6 separate regions of the Homo sapiens genome follow, and regions 2, 3, 4, 5 and 6 are each linked to region 1. The links are contacts of gene promoters, found by promoter capture Hi-C in blood cells and fetal thymus (Javierre and others, 2016). All regions are on one chromosome and are shown on one strand. Each heading gives the region's core, a stretch centred on a gene start or on the middle of the fragment in contact. The rest is flanking DNA. Distances are from core to core; before and after follow the strand shown.

Evidence for each region. Contacts are between HindIII fragments. The CHiCAGO score rates a contact against its expected background, and 5 or more counts as called.
Region 2: the fragment with the promoter of ANKRD13C here is called in contact with the fragment with the promoter of DEPDC1 in region 1 in 1 of 17 cell types (erythroblasts); the score reaches 6.0 in erythroblasts.
Region 3: a contact is called between a fragment that was not itself captured here and the fragment with the promoter of DEPDC1 in region 1, in 1 of 17 cell types (endothelial precursors). The highest score is 7.0, in endothelial precursors.
Region 4: a fragment that was not itself captured here is called in contact with the fragment with the promoter of DEPDC1 in region 1 in 2 of 17 cell types (M2 macrophages and M1 macrophages); the score reaches 7.7 in M2 macrophages.
Region 5: a contact is called between the fragment with the promoter of LRRC7 here and the fragment with the promoter of DEPDC1 in region 1, in 2 of 17 cell types (endothelial precursors and erythroblasts). The highest score is 7.5, in endothelial precursors.
Region 6: a fragment that was not itself captured here is called in contact with the fragment with the promoter of DEPDC1 in region 1 in 1 of 17 cell types (erythroblasts); the score reaches 5.6 in erythroblasts.

Annotation. Positions count from the first base shown.
Region 1 is chr1:68,495,803-68,498,374 of GRCh38, reverse strand. DEPDC1 (DEP domain containing 1) reads left to right here and starts at 1,293. Exons shown (of 12, transcript NM_001114120.3): 1 at 1,293-1,423. The coding sequence starts at 1,376. DEPDC1-AS1 (DEPDC1 antisense RNA 1) reads right to left here and starts at 1,699. Exons shown (of 3, transcript NR_110671.1): 1 at 1,604-1,699. RefSeq lists enhancers at 1,393-1,452, 1,563-1,612. The HindIII fragment of the contact is 3,947 bases long and covers 1-1,814 here.
Region 2 is chr1:70,353,442-70,356,013 of GRCh38, reverse strand. ANKRD13C (ankyrin repeat domain 13C) reads left to right here and starts at 1,292. Exons shown (of 13, transcript NM_030816.5): 1 at 1,292-2,035. The coding sequence starts at 1,606. ANKRD13C-DT (ANKRD13C divergent transcript) reads right to left here and starts at 1,203. Exons shown (of 4, transcript NR_168352.1): 1 at 806-1,203. RefSeq lists enhancers at 913-972, 1,073-1,132, 1,183-1,372, 1,403-1,462, 590-1,507 and 3 more. The HindIII fragment of the contact is 4,699 bases long and covers 1-1,752 here.
Region 3 is chr1:69,730,112-69,732,683 of GRCh38, reverse strand. The region is part of intron 2 of LRRC7 (leucine rich repeat containing 7); the gene reads right to left. Among named protein-coding and RNA genes, the nearest start is that of LRRC7, 160 kb to the right of the region's middle. The HindIII fragment of the contact is 3,762 bases long and covers 1-2,572 here.
Region 4 is chr1:69,696,360-69,698,931 of GRCh38, reverse strand. The region is part of intron 2 of LRRC7 (leucine rich repeat containing 7); the gene reads right to left. Among named protein-coding and RNA genes, the nearest start is that of LRRC7, 130 kb to the right of the region's middle. The HindIII fragment of the contact is 1,661 bases long and covers 445-2,105 here.
Region 5 is chr1:69,566,646-69,569,217 of GRCh38, reverse strand. It overlaps LRRC7 (leucine rich repeat containing 7), which reads right to left and starts at 1,296. Exons shown (of 27, transcript NM_001370785.2): 1 at 577-1,296. The coding sequence starts at 578. RefSeq lists a silencer at 1,643-1,872. The HindIII fragment of the contact is 5,142 bases long and covers 1-2,572 here.
Region 6 is chr1:69,537,827-69,540,398 of GRCh38, reverse strand. The region is part of intron 3 of LOC105378789 (a long non-coding RNA gene); the gene reads right to left. Among named protein-coding and RNA genes, the nearest start is that of LRRC7, 29 kb to the left of the region's middle. The HindIII fragment of the contact is 2,118 bases long and covers 240-2,357 here.

The sequences.
Region 1 (2,572 bases), core at 44-2,543:
AAATAAATTTTGGCTTCCACAGTCTCATCTCCATTTCCTTCTGAAAGGAAAAAGAAAAGAAAAACGAAAATCCTGGGACAATGTATCATAAAGCCAGGTAAGAAACAGTTAACATTATTTTGTAACATCAATCATTTTACTTTTCCTTAACATAAGTGGAAAATTGAGTAGATTGTTCCTGTTTACCAAGTATGTTTTTGAAAATTCCTACCCACTGGTCCTGGTAGAAAATAGATGTGCTTCTGCCCAAATTAAGGAAAACTCCACAGACCTACACTACCACTCCCTGAACATTTTTCTTTATCTCTTCTTTTTACTGCATCCTATCCTCTTAAACTGCTATTTAATTTCCAAGTGAATTCTTCCACAGCTTCAAATCACTCAAGCAATCTCCCACTTTACTAAGGGATTCTTAGCATCAGATAGTTTCAGACTGGTGACAGGGTATTTATTAAAAGCATGAAGTCTGTGCTTTGCCAAGGAGACCTAAGACTGAGTAAGTCTCTTCAACTCTCGGAATGTAGTTTTTGTCATTTGAAAATTGACTTCTGTTGAAGATTTATTTTCTAAGATCCTAGTGAAATTTTAAGTGTATAATCACGATCCAAACATAACCAACATTCTTATACAGTGGTAGAGTTTAAGGGAAGCAATTTGACAAGTTGTACACAACCTTTCCCAAGCCCCACATTGTATGTACTTAAGAAAGACTACCTATAATCCATTTTATTACCCAACTGGGGGGTTCTGAATGATCCATTTTACTGCACAATTAGGGGGTTCTGAACCTAGATTTTAGCACTTCAGAGAATCATGGCACCTGCTGAGAGAGAGGATAGGCAGCAGAGAGAGAAACTGCGACACATATCCATCAGGTTGCTTTGCCTTCTAAGCTAACTGCTGAAGATCCTGTAGGGCCAGGCAGAAAAACCGTATTTTCTTGTCTTTTCAAATTTCAAATTCCCTTAAACCAAAGGCTGGACTCCAAATAATTTCGTTTGGAACTAAAGAGCTCATCCCCTCTGAGCACGAAAACAGGACTCTGTGACTCCGCCTCGCCGTAGACCGCAGGAGGGAGAAACAGCGCCAGGGAAACCCGAGCCTGTCCCATCGAGGCGGTCCCAGGCCAGCCCAGCCCACCCCAGCCCGCGCCAGCTACTGGAGCCCCAGGACGCAGCCGAGCGGCCCTCGCCGACTCCTTCCCGAGCCTGGCTGTGGCGTCACGTGACCCGCGGCGCGGCCAATCCGCGCAGCCCTCTATGCTATTCAAATCGGCGGCGGGGCCAACGGTTGTGCCGAGACTCGCCACTGCCGCGGCCGCTGGGCCTGAGTGTCGCCTTCGCCGCCATGGACGCCACCGGGCGCTGACAGACCTATGGAGAGTCAGGGTGTGCCTCCCGGGCCTTATCGGGCCACCAAGCTGGTAAGACAGCTCGGATAGACGGGACCGGTCAGCGGGCTGACGGCAGTCACCACTGTTCGCAGTTTTACCTCGACCGTTCGCAGTTTTACCTCGGTCGGAGGGATGAGTCCCAGGATCCCTAGGTTCAGTGAAAAGGCTGGCGAGGAGAAGTAGCGGGTATGCAACCCTTGCCAGACTCACCGCTCCCTCTATTTTGAGGGTCTGGGCCTCAGGTCCGAAAGGAAGCGCCGCGCGTAGGCCGCACCAGACTCGCTATGAGGAGCGACTCCTGTGCCTGGTGTGGCCGGCGTCCCGTGGGGGCGTCTTAGAATATTCCGATTTGGCCGCTCACCTCGCCTGATTTTCTACCCGCCTCAGAATTAGGGAACAATTGGGAATGAGGTCCAAAGCTTTGTAGGGTTAGGTGGGGGGCAAGCCCGAATGTGGCAATTTTGTTTATTGAACCCATAGAATTTAACGCAGGATGTATCGGCCGAATAGCACTAGGATAACAGCTGCCTGTTTCAAAACGGTATTTCTGAGTACCCATCAGTAACCACTGCTGGTGGTCCCTGAATTGCACGTACAGCACTCCTAACGCGTTTTGTGCAGTTGGGTCTTCGGTTCTATAGGATACTGTGGTGCTGGTTATGTGACGTTAGGTGAGTCCCCTACCTTCTGTGAGCCTGTTTCCACATTGGTAAAGGTTACTAATACATGCTTGCCTTAAGGGGTTTCCCAGGAGGATGCTGTTTTTTAAAGTGTGTTGTGATCTGCAGAATAACAAGCATTTTCCTCTTAGGAATGCCCTTCAGACGAGCATGTATTATTAGCCCTACTTTATCAGGTGCACACTGAGGCTCACAGACGTTAAATGCCCTCTAGAGTCACATCAACAGCAAGTGGCAGAGCTAGAATTCAGATCTTCCTGGTATGGCGATCTTACATGGATTCTGCTACTTAGTAAGTTATTGGCTATATTTACCAATATGAAGGATAGAATTTAGGACAGGAAGGAACCTCAATCAGTAGTCCTGCCACATTATTTAAAACCCATTAGATGAAAGTAGTATAAGCACGCTGAAAAAGAAAACATGCACTGAATGCTTACTAGTACTTCACATATATTACATCATTTTATCATTCCAATAAGCCCATTCGTTAGGTCCT
Region 2 (2,572 bases), core at 43-2,542, 1.9 Mb before region 1:
AGGCCCATCGAGTTGTTTGTTTGCGGAGATGAGTTAGCAGTAGTATAAACTTTAAGAAAGAAGAGATCTGGCCGGGCGCAGTGGCTCATGCCTGTAATCCCAGCACTTTGGGAGGCTGAGGCTGGCGGATCACTGAGGTCAGGGGTTCAAGACCAGCCTGGCCAACACGGTGAAACCCCGTCTCTACTAAAAATACAACAATTAGCTTGGTGTGGTGGCGCAGGCCTATAATCCCAGCTACTCTGGAGGCTGAGGCAGGAGAATCGCTTGGACCTGGGAGGTGGAGGTCGCAGTGAGCCGAGATTGCACCACTGCACTCTAGCCTGGACTACAGAGACTCTGTCAAAAAAACAAAAAAACAAAAAAAAGAGAGAGAGATCTGAAGTATTTGCTCTCAGAACATAGGGGGACTTTGGAGAGTTAAATGGGTGAAGATCTTTAGGATGTTTTGCTAAGCCCCCTCCTTACGTCCTCAGTGGCCAGCTTTAGTTACTTTGTTAAAGTTTTATGGTTGGCAGATTTACGTTTCTTCAGAGTTTGACACTAGGTTGAGGTTGGCCATGAACTAATACAATTATATTTCAGTTACACGATTCTTTGCCCTCCTTGAGTGTCCCCACCCTCATATATGTTAACTCTGACATCTGCCCGAAATTCATTCATCTAATAAATATTTGAGTGGCCTCCCCTCTTTCCGATTGCTGGACAGCCCATCATTTTCCAAAGTCAGCACCTAAACTCTTCTATGACTTTCCTGACAACTCAACACTAAAATTCGTCCCTCCCTTTTTTGTGTGCAACCCACCTCCCCGCCTCCGCTTTTAATTGTTTGGCCTTCATTCCTCTTCTACAGTGCTCCCTGCAATCAGTACTGGTGCTGTACATATTTGCTAGCTTCGTACATACGGCACGAAGTAGATGCTCAGTAAATGTTGGTTGACTGAGTATCCTCTGCATCTCGGTGACATCACATCCTGCGTGCCGTGGCGTCATTCTGCATTCCTCTGCGGGAGGCTCAGATCCGGAGGGTTTAAGTGGTTGTTTATAACATGCACCGAACATATCCAACGGAGGCTGTGGTTTCCGACCGCCCACAAAAAGCGCGGTTGGCGGGAGTGCGGGTTCGGGGTCGGCTGGCAGCTGGGAGACTCCAGCTCTGGGCGGAAACACACTGCCTCGGAGGCGCCGGCGCCTAGTGATTCTGGGAATAGAAGGTGCGAGGGAGGGAGCGGGTGGCTCACTTATCGCGGTGTTTTCTCTCTCTTCACTCCTGGGGGAGCTCTCGCGAGAGGAGCAAGAGGAAGATGGCCGTGCCCTGTTTTTCGGTGTAAGGCAGCGACGGCGGCTGCGACGGCGAGACTGAGATCCTGGTGTCGTGGGCACCTGAGTTCTAGCTTCCCCCAGCGAGCGCGCGTCCCTTCGTGCCTAGGCGAGAGCCGGCTCTTCCCCGGGAGATGCGTTTGTCCCAGGCTCGGGGGCTCAGTGGGAGTTCATGCTGCGCTGGAGGCTCTTGGCCACCGCTCTAATCGCCTTGTGCCGCCGCAGCGCCAGCTCCGTCGCCAGCGGTGAGCCTCCCGATTCCCCCCCTTGCCCCTGGCGGCGGCGATGACCGGGGAGAAGATCCGCTCACTGCGGAGGGACCACAAGCCCAGCAAAGAAGAAGGGGACCTGCTGGAGCCCGGGGATGAGGAAGCGGCGGCTGCCCTCGGCGGTACCTTTACCAGAAGCAGGATTGGCAAGGGCGGCAAAGCTTGTCATAAGATCTTCAGTAACCATCACCACCGGCTACAGCTGAAGGCAGCTCCGGCCTCCTCCAATCCCCCCGGCGCCCCGGCTCTGCCGCTGCACAATTCCTCCGTGACTGCCAACTCCCAGTCCCCGGCCCTTCTGGCCGGCACCAACCCCGTTGCTGTCGTCGCGGATGGAGGCAGTTGCCCCGCACACTACCCGGTGCACGAGTGCGTCTTCAAGGGGGATGTGAGGAGACTCTCCTCTCTCATCCGCACGCACAATATCGGGCAGAAAGATAATCACGGTGAGGAGTGCTAGCCCCTCTCCACCTCTCTCCTTCCCCGAGCCTAGGGTGTGCCTCCCCAGGCTTCTGGAATCCTAGGCCCCCTCCAGCAGACTCTTCTTTTTGCCCATCATCCGGGCCGTTCGGTAAATCATGATCGACTCAGTAATAGCGTGCCAGTGGTCAAGGGGTTGGTTCTTGTGGGTGCAAAGGAATGTATCCTCCTTGCCCACTTCAAAGTTTGTCGTGAGAAGCTGTTTTGTTTGAGACAGGCCTTCGATTTGCTGATTCTGGACTGTCAGAAATTTTAGGTTGCCTCCCACCCAACATGGTTTTCTCCCTTTGTTTATGGAGCTATATATCTTTATTTCTCTCTCTTCCCCCTACCTTGGCATTTTAAATTTTGAACGCATAAATTGCCCTCCTCCCTTCATTGCTCACATACAGATCCCATCTTGACTGCAACTGGTTGTGATTTTGCCTGCCACCAGGTTGTTTCTTTTTTGTCTGCTTTCAGTAAACTTAGAATGTTAGATTTCTGAAAGCCACACAGTAGAA
Region 3 (2,572 bases), core at 19-2,518, 1.2 Mb before region 1:
GCAAGTATATATAAAGCCCAATTGAGGATTGAAGAATTCTGTTTTCTTCAGTATGGGACTTTATTATTATATTTACTTAAATCTAATCTTTCTAGATTATTGTCCCTGCTTGTCCATATGAAACTTAAAAAAAATTCTCTTGCAACAGAATGTTAACATACTGGCCTTTAAATAATTGCTCTTTTAAAGTTCTGTGAATTTGGGAAAACTATTGGATCCTTTATTTCTAAGTTTTCAGGGACTTTTTTAAAACCTGACCAGAGCTTTTGGAATTTCTCACTGACTGCATATTTTAGTCATAACAGTGTTCATCTTTCCTTGAGCAATTAGCTGTATGTATTTTTTTTCCCTATTTTTCATTAGATTGTGTAAATCTATCGAACTTTAAAAAATTCTAAACAACCTTTAAAAAATCTTTTTTTGCCCTAGTATTAAGTATTTCCTTTATTTAAAAAAATATTTAGCTTTTTCTTGAAGTTATCTTCCAGACATTTTTAAATAAAGTCAGTATTTTAAAAACTAGCTAATTATTATTACTACTAAATTGGAATTACTTTTGTAACATGTAATACTTTTTTTAATCGAGAGTCTGTTTTCCTTTTTTATTTCATGTTCTAGGCACTGAATGGCTCAAATAATCGTTCCATTGGTATAAAAGAAATCAAGCAAAACACTTTGTCTAGTATTTTAAATATATTAACTAGTTAGCAATAAACATGTTATTTTTGTTCTATAAGGGGAAAATTTAGGGACAGTAGAGAGGACATTTTCACATTTTACTTGGAAGTACCCAGATAACTTCTCACTAATAATAAGCAAGATCTTGTAATAATGTAGCTCCTATTTCATAAGTGCTTATAAACTGCCCAGAACATCTAATGATATTCTCCCTCTTTCAAAATTCATCAATAGAGAATCCTTGTATAGATTTGCTAACTTTCATAGATGGAGACACCTTTTAATACTTTGGACATTGAACATTTTGTCCCAGATAATGTTTTTCAAATTGGTTCTGCAATAGCAAAGTGAACACCTTTCAAATGTACAATGCAAACAAAAAGTTACCTTTGAAGAGGATGTCTAAATACATTTATCATTCTCTTTTTCAGAGGGCTAAGTTAGGAACAGTTTATTTCCTGTTAGCATCCTCCAAATAAGCACATTTTCTTGTGTTTCTTCCACATTTTGGTAAAACAATAGTAAGTTTATACTTGATATGGTTGGGCTATATCTCCACCCAAATCTTATCTTGAATTGTAGTTCCCATAATCCCCACATATTGTGGGAGGAACCTGGTGGGAGGTAATTGAATCATGGGGGCAGTTACCCACATGCTGCTGTTCTTGTAATAGTGAGTGAGTTCTCATGAGGTCTCATGGTTTTTTTGGGGGTGGGGGTAATGGAGTCTTGCTGGAGTGCAGTGGCGTGATCTTGGCTCACTGCAAGCTCAGCCTCCCAGGTTCACACCATTCTCTAGCCTCAGCCTCCCGAGTAGCTGGGACTACAGACGCCCGCCACCACATCCGGCTATTTTTTTGTATTTTTAGTAGAGATGGGGTTTCACTGCATTAGCATAAGATGGTCTCTATCTCCTGACTTCATGATCCGCCCACCTCAGCCTCCCAAGGTGCTGGGATTACAGGTGTGAGCCACTGCACCCGGCCGAGATCTCATGGTTTTATAAGGAGCTTTTTCCCCTTTTTCTCGGCACTGCTTGCTGCCGCCATGTGAAGATAGATATTCTTGATTCCCCTTCTGTTATGATTGTAAGTTTTCTGAGGCCTCCTGAGCCCTGAATTGTGAGTCAATTAAAGCTCTTTCCTTTATAAATTACCTAGTCTCAGGTATATCTTTATTAGTAGTATGAGAACAGACTAATACAGTAAATTGGCACCAGGTAGTGGGGAGCTGCTCTAAAGATAGCTGAAAATGTGGAAGCTACTTTGGAACTGGTAATAGGCAGAGGTTGGGACAGTTGGAAGCGTTCAGAAGAAGATAGGAAAATGTGGAAAAGTTTGGAGCTTCCTAGAGACTTGGAGGACTCAGAAGAAAGGAAGATGTGGAAAAGTTTGGAGTTGCCTAGAAACTTGAATGGCTTTGACCAAAATGTTAATAGTGATATGGACAATAAAGTGCAGGATGAGGTGGTCTCAGATGGAGATGAGGAACTTGGAAACTGGAGTAAAAGTCACTCTTGCTAAGCAAAGAGACTGGTGGCATTTTGTCCCTGCCCTTGAGATCTGTGGAACTTTGAACTTGAGAGGGATGATTTAGGGTATCTGATGGAAGAAATTTCTATGCAGCAAAGCACTTAAGAGGAAGCAGGGAATAAAAGTTTAAAAAATTTGCAGCCTGACAACGCTGTAAAAAAGAAAAACCCATTTTCTGGAAAGACATTCAAGCCCACTGCAGAAATTTACATAAGTAACCAGATGCCAAATACTAATCACCAAGACAATGGGGAAAATGTCTCCAGGGATGTCAGAGACCCTCATGGCAGCCCCTCTCATCACAGGCCTGAAGGCCTAGGAGGGAAAAATGGTTTCTTGGGCCAGGTCAAGGGCCCCCTGCT
Region 4 (2,572 bases), core at 26-2,525, 1.2 Mb before region 1:
GACAGACAGAGAGTTACAGATGGGAAGGTGAGTGAGGTAGGAAAAATCTAAAATTTGAATGAAGACTAAAGCATTGACCAATAATTTGGACTGAGATAGTCTAACAACAACATTGAGACCATGTTATGTGAATTAAAGCAATCACAAGGCTGTTTATTACCTAATGATGAATTAATGATATCAAGGCAGGGTAAGACTATCCCCCTTTCAATGCACAGAAGGTAATGAAAATACAGTTACATCTTAATTGTGTCATGAAATATGGTTGTTCAAACTCTCAGTTATACATACTGGGATGTCTAGAATAGAAGGAGAATGCCATGAGCCTGGTTGCAGGGGTGAGGAAGGGTACTAGAAATTTTGTTCAGTTTTCTGGATATTCCTAGGAAGCAGAAATAATAAAAGGAGATCTAGATGGGTTTCTCTATAAGATTACGGGAAGCTTCTTATTCATTTAGTTAATTGTAGCTTTGGCGAGAGCCATTGCTTTCTGGGGCATGATTTGGAAGACATTCTGGATTACATGTTTTGGCAATGCATCATTTTTGTCAAATATCAGATAGACTGTCATCAGTATAAGAAAGTGCTGGGGGTTGAAACTAAATTAAGCTAAAATAGGGCAATCTTCATGAGATTATGTGCCTTGAATATATGCAAGTCTTATCAAGAGAGGCTCTCTCGATTGCACTTTAATCCAGAACGGGTGTTCTAGATATTGATGTGCAGTCATATCATGGCAGACTGAGTCCACAAAAACTTCTGTCAGAGCTTGCGGATAGTTATAAATGCCACTGGAGTATTGTTGGAGAGGACAGACTTGTTGCTCACTTCTCAGGCTTCAAGAGGAGGCACTTTCCCTAAACTTCCTGAACTCTTGCCCCATTTTTTCTTTCTCACAAATGTTTAAGGAATTGTCTGATTGGCAGGGTCTGAAGATGTGAGCACAGATGCAAAGCTCAGACACTTCCCCTATCTTTCTTCTGGAGTCTACCTGAGGATATTTGGTTTTGCCTCCAAGGCCTCAGTTGTACAGCAGTAAGCCCCATGGGATGAGGCTAGATGCACTAAGTCTTAGGAAGATCCTTGTAGCCATGCACTTAAACCACCTCCTCCAATATCAGTTTTATCACTAATGAACATAAATAGACACAAAGTAGATTTTGGTGACTCAAATAACACCTGGAGACATTTTTAGCGAAACTAGGGCATGGGGCTATGGGCTGTCAGCTTTAGCTATGCAAGATTTTGACTTTGGGGTTTATTGTAGGGCATAGCAGTTTTATTCCTAAGCAAATAGTTGTTTTGGGGCAGATGGGACAATTTTATCATTAGTGTATAGCCCCTGCTGGCCTGAGTAGATACTGGCTGAGCTACTGCAGTTTGATCTTGATCTTTGAACTGTGTTATCACACAAGCACTGTCCATGGTCTTGTAACTCAGAGAACACTTATTATGGTTTTGCCCACAGCGGGGTAGTGAATCTGATTAAAAAACATGAAAAGTAGTTGCAAGTGCTTACTATACAGAGAATCTACTCTATCTTCAGTGGAATTGAACAAGGTAACAAACAAGTTATTAAAATTATTGCACACTTAAAGGCTATGAAGAGAAAGAATAAAGGCTGTGTTTGGAGCACCTGGATTTTAAGAATTGAGTTTGTGTAAAATATCCAGGAGGAATTGCAGTTGTGTGAAAGAGGCATGTTTTAGTTTTCTTATTAGAACGGAAGAAGTGGGAAAAAAATAAAAAAATAGAAAAACTAGTTGATTACTTTGGAGGAAAAGAGAGATTTCCTTATGAGAAACATAGAGATTTTATGAGACAAATTAGATAGCCATGAAATAGAGAATGGAATCTTGATGCTTGAAAGAAACAAATATTAAGAGCAAAAGGATAGACCCAGATCTGATTGATCTTAAAAAGGAAGGTAGAAAAGCAGATGTTTCAGCTATTATCAGATGTGTTAGTCCATTTGCATTCATATAAAGGAATACCTGAAGCTGGGTAATTTATAAAGAAAAGAGGTTTATTTTGGCTTATGGTTCTGTGGGCTGTACAAGAAGTGTGGTGCCAGCATCTGCTTCTGGTGAGGTCTTAAGGAAGCTTATAAATTCATGGCAGAAGGCAACATGAGAACTAGCATATCACATGACGAGTGGAAGCAAGAGAGAGTGATTTTAAACAATCACGTCTCACATGAACTCAGAGCAGGAACTCACGCATTATCACGAGGACAGCACCAAGCCTCATGAGGAATCTGCCCCATGACCTAAACACATCTACTAGGCCCATGTTAAACACTGGAGGTCACATTTCAACATGAGATTTGGAGGGGAGAAAATATCTAAGCCATATCATTCCACTCCTGTCCCTCCACATCATCTCTTGTTCTTCTCACATTGCAAAATACAATCATCACTTCCTGATCGTCCTCAAAAGTCTTAACTAATTCCAGCATCATTCAAAAGTCCCAAGTCCGAAGTTCAAAGTCCCATCTGAGACTCCTATGAGCCTGTAAATTAAAAAAACAAGTTATTTACTTCCAAGATATAATGGTGGTATAGGCATTGGG
Region 5 (2,572 bases), core at 47-2,546, 1.1 Mb before region 1:
AACCCCACCCTTTCCCTTCAATCCCAATCACATAAAAATCTTCTAATTGTATTTTTTCAAACAGACATCGAGACATTGATACAACACCTTCCAAGATAAAGAGACAAGTGCGTCCTGCCACAAGTGTGTGTGAGTGTGTGTGTGTGTGTGTCACGATCAAACACGCGCTTCATCCCTCAGACACCTCTGGGAAAAAAGCTGACTGGAGATACCCAAGATAATAACGAGGAGCTAAACCTAATTTCAGCGGAACCAATGGTCCCAGCACCAGCGCCCAACATTTACCTTTCCTTTTCGCAGTATGTAACCCTTTAAGGTCTCTTGCCAGCTCAAGCTACTCGGTGCTCCCATGCACCCGCCCAGTTAGCACCCCATTTCCAAATGCTCTGCAACCTACCACATCTTCGCCGCCTCCCTCGGCCACCGCACAAGCAGCTCCCCGCGAGCGCCGAAGCCTCCCGCCCTGCCACCCCCGCCCCCGGCCGGCCTCTGGGGTCCCACACCTCGCGCGCCTACGGTCGCCGCGGCCGGGCCCCCGCAGCACCCTCCGCCACGGAGCGAGCGTGCCTTACTCACATCGCCGGCGGGAGAAACTGCCCATGAGGTTTCGGAGAGCGTAGTCGTGCAGCTGCCAAGGGTTATTCCTTAAGTGTTCAGGGGTCCGCAGTGGAGTGGGCGCCAGGGTCTTCGGAGGAGAAGAGGAGGGAAGGAGTAGAAGGTAGGAAGAACAGGAGATAGAGGGGAATCCAGGAAGGTGCCACGTTAGACCATGATGCCAGTGCCCTTCAGGTGGACGGCTGGAGAGGTTCCCGCGGGAAGCGGCTGAGGGGAAGCCCGAAGCGCCGGCGGGGGAGGCAGGAGCGCGTCCACTCCCCAGCCTCAGCCTGCCCAGCGCGCCGCGCTAGCGACCGCAGCAGCAGCGGCGGCGGCGGCGGCGGTGGCGGAGGCGCAGCTCCCTCCCCGCCCCCAGAAGGCTCCACAGACAATAAATCCTGGGCGGAGAAGAGACAAGCAGGAAAGGCGAATCCTGCACCCAACTCCGTAACAACCCCTGCCCGTTGCCGCGCCTGTGCAGGGCGAGGATCCCCAGGGGCCAGGGCGCAGCGGGCGTCTCGGAGGGGCTGAGCGCTCCGCAACTGCAGGAGGCGGTGGCGGTGGCCCGAGTGGGCGGCTGCAGGTCCCGCCGGCGAGAACCCGCTGCACTGGGGCTGGGTGTCCGTGGCTTCAAGCCCGGTGTTCACCCGGAGTAGGGTCCTCCTCGGTGCAGTGGCTCGGCGCACAGGTGCCAGGATTGGCAGGCGAGGAGGCGCCGCTCATGGCTCTTGGCTGTGTCTCACCGCTCTCCCCGCCCCCTCTCTTTTTTCCCACCCCCTTTTCCGACGACACCAGCTGCAGCTGCTTCAAAGTGTGAAAAATGTCAAGGAGATTTTCCAATGATAGGAGGGGGTAACCATGTTCACAACCCTCGGTCTCTTTTTGAGATCCTCGCCTGTCCCTCTGACCTCTACTCCGGCTCCCCCAAATTATGAGAAGAAAAATCCCAGTCCTGCACAGGATTGAAACGCTAGCCTTCTCCCGGCTCCGTCACGATAGGCTGCTTTTCGAGAACGGGACGAGAGGCCGAGCTCTCTGGGTTCCTCTCGCCTCCGTGGTGTTCGAGGCAGGTGGCACGAATCTCAGCGCGGGGCGGAGCGCGGCTGCCGGCTCCTCCCGCTCGCGGGCCAGCCCCGGGCGCTCGGGCAGCGCGGCGCGGCTTTCTGCAGCGCGGCCGCCTGAGCGGCAGAAGCGGCTCCCGGCCTGTGCGCCTGCCTGAGCGCCCCTGCACCCGCACTAGCTCAGTGACGCTGAGCTCGTGGCTCCTCAGGCTGCTGCTCCTGCTATCTCAGCAAAGAGGCGGCCGGGAGCGCCTCCTCGGGGTTTCCTCCCCCGCCCGCCTTGCCTGCTGCAGGTTGTTGGCTGCCAAGGAGAAAAGTCTCCGCTTGTGCGTCAGGTCGCTTCACATCAGTCATGGCAGCGAACCTTGTGCCTGCTCTTAAGTCCTCTCCTCATTCTGGGGTTGCGGCTGCTGCCCTGGGAGTGCACAAAAAGGGAAGGGTTTTCCCAACTTCCCTTCATATATTCACCGCCCCTCCTCCTGCCATGAACATTCTCTCTGACACACACACACACACACACACACACACACACACACACACACACTCTCTCTCTCTCTCTCATATGCTCCCTTACGTAAAGGCACACACACTTTCTTCTTATACGCTTCTCTAAAGTCCCAGAAGCAGCAAGACATATCAATGAAGCTAGTACTATATTTACACTTTTTTTTTTTTTTTTTGAAACGGAGTTTCGCTCTTGTTGACCAGGCTGGAGTACAATGGCGCGATCTCGGCTCACTGCAACCTCTTCCTCCCCGGTTCAAGCGATCTTCCTGCCTCAGCCTCCCGAGTAGCTGGGATTACAGGCGCGTGCCACCACGCCCGGATGATTTTTTTTGTATTTTTAGTAGAGACGGGGGTTTCACCATGTTGCCCAGGCTGGTCTCGAATTCCTGACCTCAGGTGATCCACCTGTC
Region 6 (2,572 bases), core at 49-2,548, 1.0 Mb before region 1:
AGCGATTACTCTCTTGTCTACTTGGTCACTGCTCTTTCAGCTAAAATTTACTATCCAAGTTGGCAGCTGGTGAGCATATGATGTTTTTTCTGAGTTTGGCCAGGGCCTGTTGTCTTCCCTGATAACTCGACCCTATCTTAGTCCTCACCAGCACTTGAGGTCTGGATGTACCTTAACTGAACCCTAATCTACAACTGCAGAGTTACTTTTCCCAGTCACAGCAACTCGTAGGGTAAGCTTGCTAGCCAGCAGCTTTGCGTGCCTCTCGAAGGCCACTTGGAACTTCTGGCCACCTGCTAAACCCACAGGGCAAGCTGGAATTGACACTGGACGGGTAACTCTTGTTAGCCTCTGTCCAAACACATGATGCCACTGACTTGACTTTGTTTAAACACATTAATATAGTTGCCATTGGTTATGCAGAATACTTTTGCAGGAGGTTCTCCCTACTAAAACCAATGACAGAATGGCCTTTCTGCCCCTGAATTTCCCCTCACCTACATAGCAAACAGCCCTACTTTAGGCTGGAAATGAAAGAACAGGCCACACACATCCCGTCGCTTAATTCCTCCTCTTCAGGATCTCTTGTCCTTCCAAGTATCTATCTGAAATCAAAGAGGCGAAATTTCCACTTCCCCAGGATTTGACCAGATTTCCTTTCATCCATAGAATACTCCTTCCAGAGAAAATATTCCCTCCATTTTCCATTCCCTGAAGCTAGACTAATGGAAATATTGTAGTGAGCATGATTTTTATGACAGAGGAGTAAAAAAGTATGCGTTTACACTTAAATATAATCATGTATGTAAAGATCTGCAAAAAAGTGTTCTATTGCTTTTTTCTCTTAAACTTGATCACAGAGACCTTTTGACAAAAAGAATATTTCAAGATACAAATTTTCTTGAAATGCTAAGAATGAATGTAGAGTTTTAAAAAGGAACAAATGAACCACAAGTAAAATACAAGTGAAAAGTTTAGAAAGATGAGTGCATTGGGATGCACTGCTAAATGATCCATGAACTTCCTGGGGATGTTAAGACATTTTTGTTTGTTGTTTGCTTGTTTTAGGAGATTGAAGAGTGGGAGGTAAGAAAATGGGAGCAGTGAGTGTCACAGTTTTTTTTCCAAGGAGCTTGGTTGAGGAAGGAGTAAAATGGGGCAGTGGCTAGAGGGGAGACCCTCGATGGGAAATATTTGCTTTTGATGGGTGAGACATGAAGATGTTTACATGGAGGGAAATGAGTTACTCAGAGTAAGCTATTGAAGATATAGAGAAAGGAGAATAGAGCAAGGTCCCAAAGGCCATGAAGTTGGGTCAGATCAAGATTACAAAAGGAAGGCTACATCAAGAATAGGATGAGAGCCACCTCTGCTCCTGAGGCAGGTAGGAAGAAAGAAGTGTGCATGCGCAAAAATGTCAAATGTTTCTAAGTGGACAGCAGAGGAGACGAGGTATTTCAGGCCAAACAGCCTTAAATTTTTGTTAAAGAAGGAAGGAAAGATATTTGCTGAGAGTAATTAGAATAGGAGATTTGAAGAAAACTGAAAAAATAGTGAAGGTCCAAAAAGTCCTATAGAGGAGATAACCAAAGTTCTGGTTAAATATAAACAGTGATCGAGTGCTGAGACTGAAATCCATGAATTTGAATCTACATGGCACCAGTGTGCATGACTGTGTAATTTTTACCATGCAGTCAGTGTTCTGGATCAGAAAAGGCCAACTGTGAAATTGATCCAAGGTTGGGATTTTTCCATATGGAATATAAAAAAACAAAAACAAAAACAAAAAACAAACAAAAAAACCCCATGAATTTGAAGAATCTGAGGGTGTTGATGAGAGAGTGGTTCATGTAATCAACCAAGAAATCTAGGGAAGAGCTTGAGATCAGAAAGAAACAAATAAAATGGAAAGATCAAGAGCCTGGTATACTGGCAGGCAAAAAAAAAAAAACAAAACCCAAAAAACAAACAAACAAACAAACAAAACTTCAAGTTAAAGGAATACTGGATGATAAAAACATTGAAGTTTCTTTGGGTGAGTTTTCCTGGAAATGAGAAGAAAATAGCAATAATTCATTGTTATGTCATATGATAGCTGATTTTCCCAATGCCATATATTAACTATTTGGTCTTTCTTCTACTAATTTCCAAAATTTGTTATAAATCAATTTCCCCTGTACTTGTGGAACCATTTCTGTTTCACTGTTACAAGTGACACTATATCAAATGAGTCTATAATAAAATAAATATAGTAAGTTCTAGTATCTGATAGGACAAGTTCCCCTTCATTATACTTCAAAATATTCCTGGCTATTCTGGTTCATCCGTTAACCAAAACACAAATTTTTGATTAAGCTTTTCAAAAATTACTGAAAAACCCTGATAAAATTTTGATTGGAATAGCATTGAATGTACAGATTCAATTTAGGGAAAATTTGTCTTTTAGCAAGCATGGGTTTACAACTGATGAATATGTTAGATTGCTAGATATAATAAAATATTCTTTCATGAGTTCATGATCTTTCTGACCATTAAGATTTATGTTTAGTTACAAATTATTTTCATATTGTAA